Regions from separate parts of the Homo sapiens genome. Here region 1 is linked to region 2. The links are contacts of gene promoters, found by promoter capture Hi-C in blood cells and fetal thymus (Javierre and others, 2016). All regions are on one chromosome and are shown on one strand. Each heading gives the region's core, a stretch centred on a gene start or on the middle of the fragment in contact. The rest is flanking DNA. Distances are from core to core; before and after follow the strand shown. Region 1 holds the start of LOC124904004 (a long non-coding RNA gene). Region 2 holds the start of KRTAP1-4 (keratin associated protein 1-4).

What was found. Contacts are between HindIII fragments. The CHiCAGO score rates a contact against its expected background, and 5 or more counts as called.
Region 1: a contact is called between a fragment that was not itself captured here and the fragment with the promoter of KRTAP1-4 in region 2, in 1 of 17 cell types (naive CD4 T cells). The highest score is 5.2, in naive CD4 T cells.

What each region holds. Positions count from the first base shown.
Region 1 is chr17:41,651,433-41,658,606 of GRCh38, forward strand. LOC124904004 (a long non-coding RNA gene) reads right to left here and starts at 3,702. Exons shown (of 2, transcript XR_007065756.1): 1 at 1,759-3,702. RefSeq lists enhancers at 2,118-2,816, 2,817-3,513. The HindIII fragment of the contact is 2,956 bases long and covers 2,774-5,729 here.
Region 2 is chr17:41,027,380-41,034,698 of GRCh38, forward strand. It overlaps KRTAP1-4 (keratin associated protein 1-4), which reads right to left and starts at 2,816. Exons shown (of 1, transcript NM_001257305.2): 1 at 1,972-2,816. The coding sequence starts at 2,699. The coding sequence ends at 2,334. KRTAP1-3 (keratin associated protein 1-3) reads right to left here. Exons shown (of 1, transcript NM_030966.2): 1 at 6,505-7,319. The coding sequence ends at 6,939. RefSeq lists an enhancer at 1,906-2,455. The HindIII fragment of the contact is 2,506 bases long and covers 1,467-3,972 here.

The DNA.
Region 1 (7,174 bases), core at 3,002-5,501, 630 kb after region 2:
GGCCCCTGTAAGTGACAGAGGGTCGGTCTGTGCAGACCTGGAAACACACGGCCCCAAGACCTGGGATCCTGAAGAAGCAGTGCCAGCTCCTCCCAGACAGCCCGCCCCAGCTGGCCCGCTGGCTCCAGCCCAGCCAGGAGCGAGGGCAGTGGGGGAGCCCCACAGGAGGGAACGGGGGCTCAGGAGGCCTGGTGGGGCAGAGCTGGGACAGCTGGGCGAAGGGGCTGGGTCCTGGCTCCGCGACGAGGGCCCATTCCTGGGTGAGGGAGGGTGGGGCAGCCCACACATTCCAGCTGCTGCCGCTCCCGCCAGCCAGTACCAGCCTGTTCTCGCCTGTTCCCACTAGGTCCCAGGCTGCCCTGGGCCCAGCTCCCAGTGCCAGCTCCCAGAATCCTTCAGGGTTCAGACTCTAACTACAGGGACGCCAGTGCGAATGTCCAGAAGACCACCCCACAGAAACAAGTGCCTCCCCCACCAACACACATGCACACACACACCCCACCAACACACACACACGCATGCATGCACACACACTACCACCAACCAACACACATGCACACACACAAACACACACCCTACCAACACACACACACACCACCAACACACGCATGCACACACACTACCACCAACCAACACACATGCACACACATACACAGACACACACCCTACCAACACACATGCACACACATACACACACCCCACCAACACACACGCATGCACACACATACACACACATACACACACACTGCACACACACCCCAACACACATGCATGCACACACACATGAACCCCACCAACACACATGAACACACACTCACATCCCAGCAACACATGTCTGCACACATGCACACACACACGCCATCAACACACATGCACATACACACACACAAAGCCATCCTCAACCACAGGACACAGACACAGAGCAGGGTTTTCAGGAGCTGAGGCACTTCCTTCCACTGCAGGCAGCACCCAGCCAGGACAAAGTTCTATCCTCTTGCCACAAGGCCCTGGACAGAGAAGCAGGGAAAGCAGCCAAGGTCCCCAGAGAGCCCCTGGAATGGGGCACCCCAGAGCCAGCCCCAGGGCTCAGCCAAAGAAAGCTGGGGAAGTGAGGAGCTGCCCCCAGAAAGAGGAGCCAAGGGGTCTCTGCCCCAGCCTGGGACACCTCAGCCAGGCTTGCCCACCACTGCTCTGCAAGGGGCTAGGTGGGGCCAGGGGGCTGCACCTGCTCTGGTCCCTGCCCCCCAACCCAGCTGCCTGGAGCTCAGCCTGCCGCCCTCACCGTGGAGGCTACGCTAGATGCCCAGGACCAGTGTCCCACCCCATCCCTCAGCCTCTGCTCCCACAGCCCTGCTGTCACCCTTCCTGTCCTCCCTGCAGGACAGAATTCCCACGCCCACCCTGGGCCCAGGGCCAGGAACTGCTGGTTCCCACCAAGGCTTGGGAAGTGATTTCTGCAGACCAAGCCACCCTGGGCCCACCCTGGGCCCATCACAGGTTCCCAGGAAACAGCTTGGCCCTACCTGCTGCGAGGCATGACAGAGGGGACCAGCCCTGGGCTGTGCTCAGAAATGCTGAGGCCTCAGAACTGGGCAACAGGGAGGCAAGGAGGTCCCCCATGGGTGGTTGTTGGTGTGATTGAAATGCTGGCTCTACCAGTAGCCCTCCAGGAAGAGGCTAAACAGTGAGCAAGGTCCCCAAATCCCAAACTTGAAGTTTCCTTCCCCAATCACCATCCAGGGGCCCTGCCAGACTCACAGACAGTGATGGAGAAGCTACAGCGCTAAGTTGGGGGGTCCTGTGGTGGAGAAGATGCAGGTCCCAGCACAGCTCATCTCAGCTCCCAACACACATCCTCAGTCTCATGGTCACATTCCATCCACCAAGAACCCAGGGACATTCAGCTAGGCTTGGTGGTGTGCACCTGTGATCCCAGCTACTCAGGAGGCTGGGGTGGGAGAACCGCTTGAGCCCAGGAGATCAAGCCTGCACGAGCTGTGATGGCGTCACTGCACTCCAACCTGGGCGACAGAGTGAGGCCCTATCTCAAAAATAACAAAAAAAAATTTTAATTAAGTGAAAAACAAAAAGCGCCCAGGGACATTGGGAAAGGGAGTTCCTACCCCCACTTTCCAGGAAAGAAAACAGAGGCCCAAAGAGAGGAAGTGGATTGTGGGAAGAATTTCACTGCAGTAAGTGGTGAGGACTGACCTTGGCCAACCCCATATAGACCCCTTCCAGACCCAGGTGCCAGTGCAGACAGCCCAGCTGGGGTGTGGGGGACACAGGGCCAAGTGGCAAGGTGTCAGCAGCAGTCCCCAGAGATGGGCACCCCATGGGCACAAGTCCGCACTCACAGCCTCTACTCCAGGGCCCCATCTGGCACAGAGCTCCAAGCTGCTTAGGACAAAGGCATCCCTTAGAGGCTGGAGGCAGCAAACAGAACGTGTCCCTCTGCTGCTTCCTGGCCACTGCGGGGCCCTCACCACCACCTCAGCTCTCAGAACATCCTTCATTCTGCCCCCAGCATCTACTGAGCAATGACCAAGACCAAAGCTCCAAACCACAGACTGCCTGGGGCCTCGGCCTCCAGCTCTCCAACTGCAGAGGCAAGAGCAGAGTGTGAGGAGGGGGTGAGGAGTGGGCACCCCAATTGCCCTGGCCACTGTGGGAGCTTGGGCTCTAGCAGGCTGATCTCCCCCAGCCTGCACCCCACCCAGCAAGGACATGCAAGCCAAGCAGTTCCCACACCCCGTTCCTGGTGGCTGCCAGAAGCTTCCTTACAAGGCCCCAGCGCTGAGCTGGCTCAGCTGCAGGCGGGGGCCTGGGTGGGGCACAGCACACCTGGCTCAGCCAAGCCCAGACGCACCCTGCAAGTGAGGAATGCGGACGCCGCCCGGGCTGGCCCTGGGAAAGCTGCTGCCCTCGGCTCCTGCCCAGCCCTGACTCAGCCTAGGTGGGCCAGGGAAGCTGCAGCCTCAGCAGAACCAAGTCTCCCACCCCACCCTCCCCGCTGGCCTGCCTGGGATTGAACCAGGGGACAGGTCCTGGCAGGGGACTGAGAGTAGAGACAGCACCCCCTGGCCTCAGGACTTGGGGGAACAGCAGGGACTCTGTGGGACCTGCCCTTCTCCTGCACTGTCTGGAGGGTGCCAGCACAGCTCTGTCCGGGGGGGCTGCCCACAGCACATTTTCCCAGATGCCTGAGCCTCAGTTTCCTCATCCGTAAAAGGGGGCTAGTGACATTCCTGCCCACAGTGCAGGGCTGCAGTGGTGGAGGAGGTTCCCGGGAAGCATTTGAGAAGCAAACAGACCTCTTCCTAAGAAACAGAAGCGTCTGCCTAACCCCATGAGGCCAGGTGATCCCGTGCTCCATGCAGAAGAAACAGAAGCGTCTGCCCAGCCCCGTGAGGCCGGGTGGTCCCGTGCTCCATGCAGAGCAGGGTGACTCCATCATCCTCTGTCCCTGGCCCCAATACGGTTATTCCAAACTCCCCAGGACAAGGGCTGTGTCTCCCCCTCCGACTAGGCGGTCCCTGAAGGCTCGGGGCATGTCTCCCCTCAGACAAGAGGCTTCCCAGGGACAGAAACTCCATCCTCCTTGCTCCATCGCCCCACAGTCCCATGCCCTGCACTGCGGAAACCACAGGCCAGTGAAGGCCAGAAAAACTGCCCGTCCCCTCCTGGCGCCACCTTACCCCAGCCTCCCCAGGCCCTGACATCCACCTCCTTGCCCACCCAGCCAGCCCCCAAACGCGACGCTGGAGTGCCTCACGGTGCCCACCCAGACCCTGGGGATCAGGAGGCAGAGCCCCCCAGGTCTGGCGCTGGTAGAATCTCCCATCCCTCCCTGCCTGCAAAGAAAGGGCCCACTGGCCTCCCTCCCTGAGCCCTCCCACAGCTGGGCTGGCCAGAGAGAACTTTCTCCCTCTGCTCTCTTTCTCTGCTGTAGTTCAAGCACAGACCCTCTCACCCCAGCCAGCCCTTCTCCACCTTCCGGGCGCACAGTCTTAGGGGTGGAGCAGAGGCTGAGGTTGGGGGCCTCACAGTCAAAGGTGCTGAGACAACAGCCCCGCTGCCCTGTGCTCACTCAGAAGCTCCTGGGGAACTGGAGTGGAGGGGAAGGGTCCCCAAGCCCACAGGTTCTGGCTGCCCCTGCCACGTCCCCTCCCCCAGCCAGGCTTCTCCCAACTGCGGCAGGGCGTCTGGGCTCAGGTTGGGGTGCAGCGTTGGCAGGACAAACAGTCTCCAGTGTTGGGTGTTTGCCTCGGTTACCAAGGAGGGAGGTGAGGGGCCTGGCTCCCTGCCATGTTTGGGCCCCGGGCTGAAGGTGTGGGTGGCAGGGAAGGTGGAGGATTTGAGGTGGGGAGGCTCACTTCCCGCTCCCAGGGCTCGAGGGCAGGGCAAGCCAGCTGGGACTGCCAGATCCCTGGGCGGATTCAGACCTGCATCGGCCCTGCCTTTCTGCTGGCTCTGGGAAACTCAGTCAGGCAGGAGGAGACGCTGGGGGCGGGGCAGCCTCCCTTGCTGCTCAAAGCAGGGCTGTGGGCTGGAGGCTGGGCCCCGGCAAGTCAGGTACTGCCGTGGGTGTCCCAACCTTCCGGGACTGACGGCACCACGGCCTAACTCAGGCCGCCCGGGAGAGAGGCCTAGGAGCCCAGCTCTGGGCCCATGAATTTGGACAAGTCACCGCCCCTCTCTGGGCCCCAGTTTCCCCACCTATATAGTGTCAGGAGCTGGCCTGTGTAGTCCCACAGGGGCCTCCTTTGTTTTGTCCTCCCTGTCATGAGCTGGGCAGGTGGATGCTGAGGGGTTGAGGAGTTGGGCACTGAGCCGGGAGTTGTGACCCGGCCTTGAAGCCCTGGCTGGAAGGGCTCAGTACACATCCAGGCGGCCCTACTGCCCTGTCTGAGGCTGGCATGCAGTGAGTGCCCGGCTGAGTGCAGGAGCCCAGGGCTGTGGTCAGGAATGGCCGGGCCCTTTCTCCCTCTCTCAGCAATGATGAGAGCCACAGCCCAAGGAATCCCCTGCTGCCTCCTGCTCCCAGGTCTCCATCGCAGCCTCAGCATGACCGGCTCTGAGCAGGAAGTAGGGGAAGCAGGACAGAGGCTGGCCTGGCAGTCAGAGAGTGCACAGCCTGGCTCAGGAGGCTGGCAGGTCATCAGGGGCATAGAGCTGGCCCTCGTTGATGGGGCAGGGATGGCTTGGGGAGGGTGGAGACGCCGAGGCTTGAATTAGGGGGTGGGGGGTGCAGGTAGGGAAGAAAGGAAGAGGACTTGAGATTGTGACCAGGCAGTGCCACAAGGAACACAGGAGTGTGGGCCTTCCATGGGGAGGGAGGAAGGTGAGGCCAAAAGATGGCGGGGCAGGGGAAGGGACCACTTGCCTTGCAGCCCGGCCAGAGAGAGCGAGAATGAGCAGTTCCCACACCATGAAGACCTTTGCCCTGGCCCTGCTGGTGGCCCTGCTGTGCACAGAGAGACCCCAAGGTCTATGCTGCCACCAGTGCTTGGTGGCCCCAGCCTGGCACAGGCATGCCTGCCCCGCTGCCACATGCCCCTTCCCTGACAGGGTCTGCGTCTCGGGATATGAGAGACACAGGGAGTCTGGGTCCCTGTGGCATCTGGGAAAGTGAGAGTGGGGAACAGGCTCTGCCTCCTTTCCCTCCTGCCCCAAGAATGATACCATCATTTGGAATGTGGAGGTTCTGGACACCTCTATGAGTTCCAAGCTTTCTTGTTGCAAGAGAGGCCTCTGTAATGCGGGGGTCCTGGTGGCAGGCAGCACCTGGGCCCTTCCTTGGGACTCCTGCTCAGCCTGGGTCAGTTCCCCTCTGGGCCCTGCTGTGATGGCCTTTCCTGTCCCCCTTACCCCATGGCCCCCTCCTCTGTCCCCATGCATAGTGTCCTCCTCAGTTTGGGACCACTTCGGCACTGACCCTCGGGAATTCCAGTGTGGTTTTGCAGCCGCGCGTTCAGGGGAAGGATGTGGTGGGGCAGAGGCGGGGGCTTCCCTGTCAGGGGACTCTGGCACCGGGCGGGTCCCTGCGGCAGACTTGGAATCCCTGCTTGGACTCATCCTGTTACCTGGGCCCAGGGCCTTCAAACCCACATTCCCTACATCGCCACCTCCTTAAACCACCCGGCCTCAGAGCCAGGGGCCTTGCCATTTGCTGTTCTGAACCTGGAACCACAGGAAGAACACAGGCCAGGGGCAGGAGTCCAGGGTTCCGTCCTACCCAGCCATTAACTTAACACGGAGCCAGGGCCACACAACGCACCACTCCGGACCACCTCTGTTCAAGCAAGGAAGAAACCCAGGGCTCTGGAGCCCCTCAGGCCTCCCACACAGGGCGAGAGCTCCCCTGTCTCAAGGTCAATAAACACCCCTCTGCTTACTCAAAAAAAGACAGAGAGAGAGAGAGAGAGAGACAGCAGGGTCCAGTCTCTGAGGGCCTTGCGACCAGGCTGAGACATGGAATGGGGGCCAGTGAAGGGCGAAGGAAAGGACTGAACCCCAGCAGGAGCGACTCAGCACCCCACACACAGACACGGTCTCTGGGCCCTGACCACGGCTCCGGACACCCCCAGGAAATGCTGAGACCTAGATCTCTGCTTTGTGTGCTTTGGATAAGCGCATGAGCTAATGCCAGTCTGATCCAGACCTGCCCTCCGAAGCTGCAAGGTGGCAAAACAGAAGAGGCCTGCCCACACAGGTGCACCAGCCACCAGAGGACTGGGTGTGGGGCTGGGTGGCCAGCAGCTGAGGGTCCTAGGCAGGGCAGCAGGAGGGTCGGCCCTGGGGCAGGGAGAACCGAGGGCCCCTTCCCCCGCTACTGTGCCACTTGCCGCCTGCAAACAGGGAATCCCAGGAGGCCGGATCTTCTCGCTTTGCACCCAGGAAGCTAGAACTCTGGATTTGTATGGGAAGCCTCCTGATGCTTCATATTTGGAAACTAATTCCAAAATAACACCCTGTGCAGGCCAAAGAAAGCAAGGCATTCAGCCAGCCTTGGAGCTCATGTGGGCTGAAGGACAATCTCACTCAGGACCCCCTTTACAAAAAAGTAAAGTGAGGCCCAGGAGGGATGGGCTTGCAGCCAGTTAGGATCAAGTTGGGCCGAAACTCAGGCCCTGACTTTCCTGTGCTCTCCCCAACAAGGTTCCCACCCCCT
Region 2 (7,319 bases), core at 1,566-4,065:
TATAGTTTCTTCTGGACTCCTCATATCAGTCCTTTGCTCTTTGGAATATGTTTGTGGTTTCCCATGTTCAAAGAGTACTTCCATTTTAGTCCAAATGAATGCTCTCATTTTACATAATAGTTATTCCACGTGACAATCTATCCATACCTCTAAGGCTAAGAGTAATAATTGTGCTGTTATATTTAACTATTATTTTTTCCTCCTAGATATATAGACTAAATTTTATTGAATTTTGGATATCTGGATATCTACTGAACTGAAGGAATACCTTTGGTCATACATAATTCGCAGATTTCACCTTTTTTTGTTCCAATGTCTTATTGAATTACCGATTATAGTTCCTTTGATTTCAACCAATTTGGAATGTGTGACTATTATTCCTGTTCCAGACCAGAAATCTGTTCTTGGGAACCAAACTGACATAGTATTTAGGAAGGTATCCAGCAGAGTCCTTAGTTTGTGGTAGAACCTTAATAAATGTTTACTGAATCTGATTCAATAAATGTTTATTGAATAGGTGGAGTAAAAGGCTTGATTCATGGATATCAATACCACTCAAACATGATTAAAGAGAACTTTCAAGCTGTAGTACTTCTCATGAAAGAGTCTTGTTATTTGCTGTAAAGAGACTAGGAAATGTGTTTTTTGGTTTATTTTATTTTATTTTTTGGATTTAGTAGTGGAACCGGGCTCGGGAAAAAATATCTAGGAGTTATGACACTTTGAAAAATGTACTGCCATCTACTTTATTCCTCTTGGAAATTGCATAATTTTGTGTGTAATCCATCATTGCTACCAATTAAATATAGAGGTAAGTTCTGGGAGCTTGTAAATAATGTGGAAAACGTGTTTCTTTCTATATTTGCATCCTATTGTATTTTGTGTATTACACTCTAATGCCTAATGAAGAATTTAAAAATTAAATGGTAAAATATGTTTTGTTTTGTTCTAGGTTGTGTTAATTTTTTTTTTTGAGACAGAGTCTTGCTTGTTGCCCAGGCTGGAGTGCAGTGGCGTGATCTTGGCTCACTGCAAGCTCTGCCTCCCAGGTTCACGCCATACTCCTGCCTCAGCCTCCCAAGTAGCTGGGACTGCAGGCACCCACGACCACACCTGACTAATTTTTTTTTTGTATTTTTAGTAAAGACTGGGTTTCACCATATTAGTCAGGATGGTCTCAATCTCCTGACCTCGTGATCCACCCATCTCAGCCTCCCAAAGTGCTGGGATTACAGGCGTAAGCCACCGTGTCCAGCGTGTTAACTTCTTAAGAGAATATCTTTTAAGTTGGGTTGCAAAGTGCAAAATATAATCGAGCTGTTTCAGATTTCTAACACTTCTGTCTGACAAATGGCAATGGTAGAACTCAGCGGGTGCTCTCTATAGCTGTTTCTTCTACTATCATTTAGACCAAAGATACACCTTATGCATACGTACATCAAATGAAGGTGAATAGTGGGAGTTGAAGCTTAGAGAGCAATTCAAGGATCAGTGGGAAGAATGTGAAAGGCTAAGGTGTAGAAATTAAACCTAAATTCTCTTGGAAAATAGGTAGTATCTAGTAGCTATTTTTAAATCTATTTAGAAGGTAATGCAATTTCTTTAGATTTTGGGGCATAAATGAAGGAGAACATTTAGTATATTAAATGGAAGGAGACAAAAGATGGTAGAATTACATTTAGATAGAAATCAATAGCTTTGATCAACCTTAACATTTTAGCTAAAGGTCAACCTTTATTGGTCTAGACCTAATCATAATAGATTAGAGCATGTAAATATTTGAACTATAAAAATTCTTTAATTCATGGAGCATTTTTAAGCTGATGGATTCAAGCATAATTTACTTTGTATTTAATCTTTCTGGTTTAGACTTTATGGTTATGCCTTGGTATTATTATCAAATTGCAAATCCACTCTTGAATACCAGCTACAAGAAGACATGTTTAAAGGTAGAAGGAGGACATAACTCAGTTTGCTTTGCACATTAAAACATTTTATTTGGATTAATCAGAGATATTCAAGGAAAAACCAGGTCTGAAGATGCATGAGCATCAAGAGAGAGTTGGGGGAGCAGAGATGTCACTGAAATGATGAACTATTCCATCCTGGTCCTCTGCTCAAGCAACGCAAGCTATCCAGAACACTGATTGATACATCTTTCAGTAAGTGAATTCGGCACATCCACAGTGTCCTAACTAGGAGTTTCATTATCTCTGAGCAGCTTAACAACATCATGGTACTTAGCATCCAAGTAAAATCGAACAGTTCTTCAGAAATCAGCACAATTTTGCTGTGCTTCCCCTTTCATTCTTAAGCGATCAGCAACCTGGCTTTTAGCAGGTGGGCTCACAGCAGTGGCAGCAGCAGGCTGGGCGGCAGCAGGACTGTCCACAGTAGGACGGGCGGCAGCAGGAGGCCTCGGCGTGGTGCAGCTGGCAGCAGGATGGGGGTGTGCAGCTTACCAGGTAGCAGGGGGGCAGGCAGGTGCCCTCCACGTGGCAATCTGGGTGGCACCACCTGATACGGGTGCTCACAGATCCACCGCTGCCCTCCTGGCCATAGCCAATGCCACCACCAATGCCACAGCCGGTTCCGCAGGAGCTGGTCTGGCAGCAGCTTGGCTGGCAGCAGCTAGTTTCACAGCAGCTTGGCTGGCAGCAGCTGGAGCCACAGGTCCCACTGGTGGAACAGCTGGCCATGGTGTCAGGAGTTGGGTTGAGAGCTGTGTTAAGAGAGGTTTCTGAGTTTGGGCTGTACCTTCTATATCTGTCCTTTGATATGTTCCCTAGAGCTGCATATTTACCCAACACCTTTTCTTGATGTCAATTTCAGTGTGAGTCTCTGGCTAATACCTGAGGTGTTTATAAAGTTATAAATAGCATTTCAATAGCCTTTTTCCATTGTACAATTAAGTCTCATTATGTTTCTTCTTTGCCCTCTGGGCGAAGTGAAGGCTCATCATGGAAGCCAAGCACCGAAGTGCCTCTTTATGCAAGTCACATGACAGACTAGCCTTGAGCCAAGTGTCGCCCTGGCACGTTTTGTCATAGTTGTCCTTTGATAACCTTTAGGCAGAATTTATCTTAACTGATCATTTTTCCTTAAATGGTCACTTAACTATGATCATGATTTTATAAACAATTTGTCCAGACTTGGAAAGACTAACATTAGTGTCATCAAAACATGAACTACAACCTGATGTATCAACTTTCAAACCAAGTATGCCTTTCTATGATCAATTTGTGCAAGTTATAGGATCCTCAGAGCTCTATCTAATATTCTTGCCTTCAGTAATAGTGAATGTACAAATTGCTAACTAAAATCTTTAATGACTTTTGCTTGTAGATTGTTTTCTGACTCTATTAAATTAAACATATGTGCTAGTAATGAGTACACATTGTAACAAGTCAAAGAGTACAGAGGTATATAAAGAAAAATTAGTGTCTTTTCCCTTCCTGGAAGATGCACACATCTCTTCCAAAACTAATGCTCTAGAGGTAATCAATATTAAGAATTTGGTGCACATTCTTTGACACCTTTATCCTTGCTTCTGCAAATATAAACCAGCATATATACATATATATCTTCTATTTCAGAAAAGTTTGGGTCTCCTACACATGTTTATAGTTACAAATTTTTAATTGTGGTAAAATATACATACCATAAAATTTATGAACCATTTACATTAACCATCTTAACCATTTGTAAATAGTCTTGTCACCCTTGTTGAAAATCATTTGACCACATTCACATTCAGAAGAAATGAAATTAGACCATTGTCTCACATTATATACAAAAACCAACTTAGAATGGATTAAAAGACTGAAATGTAAGAAAGACTCAAAATGATAAAACTATAAGAAGAAAACAGAGGAAACTCCATGACTTTTGCCTGGCCAATATTGTGATATTGTGAACATGAATCCAAAAGCATCAGCAAAAATAGACAAGTGGGATTACATCAAACTAAAAAGCTTCTGCACAGCCAATAAAACACTAAACTGAGTGAAGACGCAAACCGCTGAATGGGAGAAAATATTTATAAACCACATATCTGATAAAGGGTTAATATCCAAAGTATAGAGGAAACTCAAACAACTCAATACCTGTAGTAAGAAAACAAATAACGTAATTGAAAAATGGGCAAAAAATCTAAATAGACATTTCTCAAAAAAAATCTACAAATTGCCAACAGGTATATGAAAAATTTTCAAAATCACCAATCATCGGATAATGCAAATTGAAACCACAATGAGATATCGTCTCACACATATTAGATAGTTATTATCAAAAAGACAAAAGATAGCAAGTGTTGGAGAGGAAGTGGAGAAAAGAGAACTCTGGCACACTGTTGGTGGAAATGTAAATTAGTACAGCCATTATGGAAAACAATATGAAGGTTCATCAGAAAATTAAAAATAGAACTGTCATATAATCAAGCAATCCCACTTCTGTGTATATACCCGAAGGAAAGTAAATCAGTATTTTGAAGAGACATCTGCATTCCCATGTTCATTGCAGCATTACTCACAATAGCCAAGATATGGAAGCAACCTAAGTGTCCATGTCCATCATTAAATGAGTGGATAAAGAAAATGTGATACACACACACATACACACACACACACTCACACACTGGAATATTATTGGTCATAAAAGAAGGAAATCCTGCTATTTGGGGCAACAGATTAAACTTGAGAACATTATACTAAGTGAAATAAGTCAGACAAAGAAAAAGACTAATATTGCACTTTCTCACTTACAAGTGGAACTTAATGTAAATGACAAGTTATTGGGTGCAGCACACCAACATGGCACATGTATACATATGCAACAAACCTGCAAGTTGTGCACATGTACCCTAGAACTTAAAGTATAATAAAAACAAAAAAACCTCAAAAAAAAGAAAAAGTTGAATTCATGGAAGTAGAAAGTAGAATGGTGGTTACCGGGGGTAGGGTGGTGGTGGAGTGTGTTGGGAAGATGTTGGTCAAAGGATTACAAAATTTCAGTTAGATAAGAGGAATAAATTCAAGAGATCTATTGTACAACATAGAGACTATAGTTCATAACAATATGTTACAGTCCTGAAAATTGCTAAGAGAGTAGATTTTGTGTTTTCACTACAAAAAAACTTATGTGAGGTAATGCATATGTTAATTAGTTTGATTTAGCCATTGTACGAAGTATACATATTCCAAAAAAATGTGTTGTACACAATAAATACATATAATTTTTGTCAATTCAAATAAATAAATAAATGAACTCATTTAACCATATGTGTATTTGAGGGTTTATTTCTAGGCTCTCTGTTCTTTTCCATTGCTTTATATATCTGTCTTTATATCAGTATCACACTGTTATGATTACTGTAGCTTTACAGTAAATTTTGAAACAGGAAAATGTGAGACCAACTTTGTTCTTTTTTAAGATTGTTTTGGCTATATAGGACCCCTTCTAATTTCATATGTATTTTAGGATGGATTTTTTTAAAATTTCTGCAAAAACATCATTGGGATTTTTATAGGGATTGCGTTAAATCTGTAGATTCTCTGGGTAGTATTGACATCTTAACAATATTAAATCCTATAATCCATGATCTCAGGATGTCTTTTCATTTATTTGTGTCTTCTTTAATTTCTTTCAGTAACATTTTGTAGTTTCTGGTGTACGAGTCTTTCCCCTCCAAGGCTAAGTTTGTTCCTAAGTATTTTATTCTTTATTTTATTATTATTATTATTATTTGAAATGGAGTCTCACTCTGTCACCCAGGCTGGAGTGAAGTGGCACAATCTTGGCTCACTGTAACCTCCACCTCCTGGGTTCAAGCAATTCTCATGCCTCAGCCTCCCCAGTAGCTGGGACCACAGGCATCCACGAACATGCCTGGCTAATTTTTGTATTTTTAGTAGAGACAGGGTTTCACTATATTGGCCAGGCTGGACTTGAGCTCCTAACCTCAGGTGATCTGCCCACCTCAGCTTACCAAAGTGCTGGGATTACAGGCATGAGCCACCATGCCCGGCCATAAGTATTTTATTCTTTTGATGGAATTGTTTTTAAAATTTTCCTTACAGATTTTTCATGGTTAGTATATAGAAATGCAATTTATTTTTTTTAGTAGAGATGGGGTTTCACCATGTTGGCCAAGCTGATCTCAAACTCCCGACCTCGTGATCTGTCTACCTTGGCCTCCCAAAATGCTGGGATTACAGGTGTGAGCCACCGTACCCAGCCAGAGATTTTGATTTCTGTAACTTCCTGGTTGTGAAAGCACTGTGTAAGGTTAAGTTATGGTAACAGAGCCTTTGCCATTTCTGAGGCCCTAAATAACTACACTTACTCTATGTTTTTATGGTCATTAACCTCCACTGGACCTCTGGATAACAAATTTCCTAATGTGGTATTAGAAGAGAAGGGATATCAAAAGCAGATTAAAGTTTTTCATATGACATTCTATGAAATATACATCCTGAGTACACTCAATGAAAAAAAAAAGATATGTTTGTTGCACCAATAGTTAAAATTTATTAGACCTTGGTATATTATTCCTCTTTCATAGGGGGTGCAATTTGCAGGACGGTGGGATACAGGAAGTGAGTGTCCTGAGAAGGACAGATGGCTCTTCCATGGTCTCGTCGGCGCTGAGACTCAGAGCGTGGGCTTCAATGCTTGCAAAGGCTCAGTTTCAAGGTAAATCGGCTTTTTCATTTCTTGGGTCAAATTTGTATTTTGGCGTCCTCAGAGAGAAGAGTAAGGTCTTTCTGGAATTGAAAGGAATCAGATAATTCTGAGGCCAAAATATTTGGTAACCCCCATAAGAAAGACAAAGAAAGGTTGAAGAATTTGTTCGTTGTCCATAAGTGCTTGAAGAAATAATTCGTTCATGAATGGAACTGAAAGTGGAAATTTCAAGTTGAAAATCAGCAAACTGGCTTTTAGCAGGTGGGCTCACAGGAGTAGCAGCAGCAGACTGGGCGGCAGCAGGACTGTCCACAGTAGGATGGGCGGCAGCAGGAGGCCTCGGCGTGGTGCAGCTGGCAGCAGGTTGGGGGTGTGCAGCTCACCACACAGCAGGGGGGCAGGCAGGTACCCTCCACACGGCAGTCTGGGCGGCACCACCTGATACGGGTGCTCACAGCTCCACTGCTGCCCTCCTGGCCATAGCCAATGCCACCACCAATGCCACAGCCAGTTCCGCAGGAGCTGGTCTGGCAGCAGCTTGGCTGGCAGCAGCTGGTCTCACAGCAGCTTGGCTGGCAGCAACTGGAGCTGCAGGTCCCACTAGTTGAGAAGCTAGGAAATCCGCAGAAGCTGGT